Linked DNA regions of Homo sapiens: region 1 is linked to region 2. Evidence: promoter capture Hi-C in 16 types of primary human blood cells and fetal thymus (Javierre and others, 2016). All regions are on one chromosome and are shown on one strand. The core of a region is centred on a gene start or on the middle of the fragment in contact, and the rest is flanking DNA. Distances in the headings are between cores, read along the strand shown.

What was found. The method cuts DNA at HindIII sites, captures the fragments that hold promoters and counts their contacts. A CHiCAGO score of 5 or more calls a contact.
Region 1: a fragment that was not itself captured here is called in contact with the fragment with the promoter of NUBPL in region 2 in 1 of 17 cell types (total CD4 T cells); the score reaches 5.6 in total CD4 T cells.

What each region holds. Positions count from the first base shown.
Region 1 is chr14:36,301,759-36,304,484 of GRCh38, reverse strand. All of the region lies in intron 7 of MBIP (MAP3K12 binding inhibitory protein 1), which reads left to right. Among named protein-coding and RNA genes, the nearest start is that of MBIP, 18 kb to the left of the region's middle. The HindIII fragment of the contact is 2,950 bases long and covers 1-2,726 here.
Region 2 is chr14:31,559,859-31,562,653 of GRCh38, reverse strand. It overlaps NUBPL (NUBP iron-sulfur cluster assembly factor, mitochondrial), which reads right to left and starts at 1,250. Exons shown (of 11, transcript NM_025152.3): 1 at 1,107-1,250; 2 at 439-586. The coding sequence starts at 1,214. NUBPL-DT (NUBPL divergent transcript) reads left to right here and starts at 1,323. Exons shown (of 3, transcript XR_943720.2): 1 at 1,323-1,543. RefSeq lists enhancers at 526-1,081, 1,008-1,407. The HindIII fragment of the contact is 6,263 bases long and covers 1-2,037 here.

The DNA.
Region 1 (2,726 bases), core at 114-2,613, 4.7 Mb before region 2:
CAGTAAGTACCAACATGCTTTTACAAGTATATTGTTTAGTTTATAGCATTTATCACTCATATGTTTATACATGTTTTTCACTTTATATTTTGAAACTCTCAAGGGCAGGAACTATGTCTTGTTCATCTTTGAGACACAGAATGTAGTCAATATCGAGTAGATGTGCAAATGAATGGATAGGACTTGGCTGATAGCTCATTATTGGACTTTGAAGGTGTGTTAACTTTGTTCAAAGCACTGACTGAGAGTAATTTTTAGTCTGTAACAGTAACTCCTGGTTCTTAAGGGAAGTATCGGGGGAGGGGAATGCTGAAAATCAGGTCAACATCATGTACACAGGCCATGTGCGTGTGAACGTGTGGTGGGTCTGAAGCATGAGTGAACAACTGGATTCAGCTAGAAAATTAGATTGTAAACATATTTCAGAGGGCCTTGAAGGTCACACTAACCAGTTTGCACTTCTAGTATCATTGGAGCACAATTAAGTTTTAGAGAAAGAGAGAAACTTGTAATTTAGGTCCCTGTCTGGTGGCATTATGAAGTCTGAGTTGGAGAGAAATTGGAGTCAAGGAAACTAGTTTAGGAAACATGTCATTATCCAAGCCAGAGAGAAATGAAGGTCTGAATCAGGGCTCTGGGACTAGAAGGGAAGAAAAACATTTTAGATACTGCACGCATAGAATCAGTTGCCTTTTACAACTGAAAGAAAGCAAGCCAGTCATGGAAGAGGCCTCCTTACCCTTGAGTTTCCTTAGAGCACTGGTTCCCTGGATTCATATGTGTGTGTGCATGTGCGTGAACGTGTGTATGACAGTCATGCTCTGCATAAGGATGTTTCAGTCAACAGTCAACTGCATATATTACAGTGATCCCATAAAATTATAGTATGGTATTTTTACTGTATCTTTTCTATGTTGAGACGTGTTTAGATACACATATACCATTGTGTTACACTTGCCTACAGTATTCAATACAGAAACATGCCATAAGGTTTATATGCTAGGAGCAATAGACTATACCATATAGCCTAGGTGTGTACCATCTAGGTTTCTATAAGTATACTCTATGATGTTCACACAATGACAAAATTAACACATTTCTCAGAATATATCCCCATCATTAAGCGGTGCATGACTAGGAACCTGGTAAGGTAAAATAATGGGTGAGGAGAGACAATTTTGCATTACCTTTCTCCAGCTCTTTCTTTAGTGTGCTGTGCTCTCAAGTATTTTCTCTCAGGTACCAAAACCTGTTAAAATGTCCACCTTTTATACTTCTATACAGATGGGGTTATGTCCCAATAAACCCATCAAAAACTGAAAATATTATTAAGTCTAAAATGCATTCAACACCTCTAACCTACCAAACATCATAGCTTAGCCTAGCCTAAAACATGTTCAGAATGTGTACACTGGCCTATCATGTACAGTTGAGGAAAGTCCCTTGGCAGCACAGTACACTGTAGAGTATCGGGTGTTTACCCTCATACCCCATGGCTGACTGGGAGCTTTGCTCACTGCCACTGCCCAGCATCACAAGAGAGCATCGTATCACATGTCACTAGCCCAGGAAAAGATCAAAATTCAGCATTTGAAGTACAGTTTCTACTGAATGTCTGTCACTTTCACAGCATTGTAAATTTGAAAAACCTTATCTAGCCATCATAAGTCAGGAACTGTACTGAGATTTCCTTATACCTAAAACAAACAGTAAAGTTAATCTAGTGTATCCACGGTAGATATGGTATTTCTAAGTGTTCTTTTTATCAAAATATTCTGCTCAGAGCTAAAACAAGTCCAAAAGGCCACATTTTACTGTTTTTAAGTCACTGAGCGACTGATGACCTTATTTTCCTCATTCTAATATTTCTTGCTTTGGTTCTATGATACAGTAGTAATCTGATTGTTTAATAGCATGGAAACTATCAATATATTACAGGTTAAACGATTAGGAGAACAAGGGGAATTTTTTTTTTTTTTTTTTTTTTTTTTTTAAGATGGTGTCTTGCTCTGTCGCCCAGGCTGGAGTGCAGTGGTGCAGTCTCGGCTCACTGCAACCTCCGCCTCCCGGGTTCATGCCATTCTCCTGCCTCAGCCTCCCAAGTAGCTGGGACTGCAGGCACCTGCCACCACACCCGGCTAGTTGTTTGTGTTTTTAGTAGAGACTGGGTTTCACCATGTTAGCCAGGATGGCCTTGATCTCCTGACCTCTTGATCCACCCGCCTCGGCCTCCCAAAGTGCTGGGATTACAGGCATGAGCCACCACGCCTGGCCAAGGGCAATTATATTTGCATCAAGTGTATAAAAAGCCACCTCTTAGGAAGTTAGGAGACTGATCAATCGCCAAATTAAACATTGATTCCTTATTTGCCCATAGGCCCTACCACAGGTATCCAGCTTGGTTTGGCAAAGGAAGGAGCATAATTATCTGAGCTCTATTATTTCTTAATTACTAATTCTAATACTTAATGATTTCCCATTTATTGTAACTTGATAAGCATACCTAGATGTTCTTTGAATCAACTTTTGACACAAAGGAAAATGTGAGTTTTAATGCTGTCTTTAAAATCTCAGTAGTCAGAAATGCTCATGAGAACATTTTGTCTTGGACATTCACAGTTTCTTTGTCAAATATACTCATTTACTAATTTGCCATTCAAAAGCTAGTGCTTGTGTGAAACTAAGAAAAAGTCTAGAAAGAATTCATTAGGCCAAAGTTTAAAAGG
Region 2 (2,795 bases), core at 1-2,500:
ACAGCCTGGGTGACAGAGCGAGATTCCGTCTCAAAAAAAAAAAAAAAAACAAAAAAAAAAAGTTACTAGATGTTTTAAAAATAACAGCAACCAATTATTGAACACTAGTAAACACTAAGCTAAGTGGTTAGCTTGTGCAATTTGAATAACCATCTTATGAAAGAAGTTATCTCCATTTTACAGTTAAGTGAACTGAAGATTTGCTGTACAATCTGACCACTTTTTCCTGAGTTAAGGGGTGGGAGACCCGGCTAGTACCTACTTTTGTCTAACTCCAAAATCTAAGCGTCTACCCGCTACCAACTCCTGAAACTAAGGAATCACATGTTAGGAACTTCACAAATAAATTTTTAAAACACAAAACTATAATTTCAATAGTGTGCACTTGTCTGTTGGCATAAGTTCTTAATCAGGAATAGAATTAATATCCTATAATACCTGCTGTAGTAGATTTTCCGACTCCACCCTTTCCAGAAGCCACAACTATAACTTGTTTAACACCTTCTATCGGTTTCTGCTTTGGAAGTCCTCGGGACATGATTTGTGTTCTTCTTTGTTTTAGGGTCTCACTCCCGGCGCCAGACAACTTTAAAAAATAATAATAATAAAAAGCCGTTTTAAATAAGCCATCTCCATCATCACACTGTAAAAGCAAAAACAATCTGGGGTTTGCAATTAAGAGGGCTTTCTTTTCTAATTCTGCTCATCTTCACTATGGAGACATTTACCTACTACTACTGATAACAATTGTAAAGACACATTGCTTAAATTGAAATTTTTCTAGCAGGATACGCTGAACGTTTAAAAATGTAAAAACGCTGCCTCTTTACGGAGATAAGGCTTCCACGTGTTTTGCTTTTCTTCAATCTATTTGATAAATAACCCAAAGCCAAGAAAGCAATGTAGAATACCACATCTACGTTCTAACTGTGTTTCAAGTCCCGCCACGCCTCAGCCTGGGCCTGCCTGAAAAGTAGGCACGTCCAGCACACTGGGGGTCTCAGGAACTGAGGCGAGTCTTTGGCAAGAAGCAATGCCAGGGCATCTGCGGCCCTGCAGCCCAGCATCTGTCAGCCCGCTTCCCCCTGCCCTGCAGCACCACGGACCTGGCGCCCACAAACCATCGCTCGGCTTCCCCCAAGCGGGGCAGTGGCCCCGCCACCAGCCCGGAGCGACACCCCACCAAAAAGCAGCAGACGCTGCCAAATCCCCATGACGCGGAACGCTGCTGTGAGCCCTGCTGGGAAACTGTCGCGGGTGGCGCGGAGTGATGACGTCACGGAGCAACGCTCGGCTTTCTCTTCCTAGCAACCGGTCTTCTTTGGGTTTGTTGGCTCAGGAACCCAATCTGCATGATCTTGTTTATAGCCAGCTACAAACATTTTGCAGCGTTTTACTAAACGTTTGTGAAGTGTTGTCATATAAAACATCTCTTATGATACTTACAGAAGTCCCGAGGTAGACAGAAGACTTACCTAGTATACTCTTTTTATGGACAAGAAAACGGAGAAAGTTTAAAGAGACTTGACCCAGCTTAACAAAAGTAGGAAATGGGGGACCTTGAAAATGACCCCAGGATTTCTTACTAAGCAGTATATGGTCATTTAAATACTACCACCGTTAAGGATTTTACCTTTTTATTTTATTTTTTCCCGTGTGATCTACAGTGAGAGTCTGTTTTGCGTTGGTATTCATGGCTTGTGTTGCTGACAGTTCCCTGAAAGAAAGGTCAGGTTGCTTTACCAGCAACCTGGTAAAGAACTTTGCAAGTTCTTCCAGACTTAAGACTCATTTATTTAACAAATATTCGTTGAGCAACTACTATGTACCGAGTACTACAGTAGACTTAAAATATTCAGCATTGAGACCGACATAATTCCTCCACTAAAGGGCTTTATAATCCAGTGCAAAAGACAGAATAAGTTAACAACAAAATTGCGGTATAATATGATAAGTACAGGAGAAAAGCATTGAGGGATACAGGAGAAAGGACAAAGTGATACAAAGAAAGGGCACTCAATTCAATCAGGGGAAGCTTCTAAATTAGGTAATATCTAAGCTGAATGCTGAATCTGAATAATGTGTAGAAGTTAGCTGGGAGAATGGCAAGGAGATTGTTGTAAAGAGGTTAGAAATGGACTGCTAAGGCTAGGCATGGTGGCTCACGCGTGTAATTCCAACACTTTGGGAGGCCAAAGCAAGAGGATTGCTTGAGCCAGGAGTTCAAGGATGCAGTGAGCTATGATTGCACCACTGCACTCCAGCGTGGGCAGCAGAGTGACACCTTGTCAGAAGAAGAAGAAAGAAGGAAGGAGGAAGGAGGAAGAGGAAATTAAAAGGAGAAGAAAGAAGAAGGAAGAAGAAAGAAGAAGAGAGTAGAAGGAAGAAAGATGAAAGAAGAGAGAAAAGCCCCCGCCCGGCCAGCTGCCCCGTCCGGGAGGGACGTGGGGGGCAGCCCCCATCCGGTCAGCCGCCCCGTCCCGGAGGGAGGTGGGGGGCAGACCCCGCCCGGCCGCCACCCCGTCCGGGAGGTGGAGTCACCTCTGCCCGGCCACCCCGTCTGGGAAGTGAGGGGCCCCTCTGCCCAGCCGCCACCCTGTCTAGGAGGTGTACCCAACAGCTCATTGAGAACGGGCCATGATGACGATGGCGGTTTTGTCGAATAGAAAAGGGGGAAATGTGGGGAAAGGAAAGAGAGATCAGATTGTTACTGTGTCTGTGTAGAAAGAAGTAGACATAGGAGACTCCATTTTGTTCTGTACTAAGAAAAATTATTCTGCCTTGGGATGCTGTTA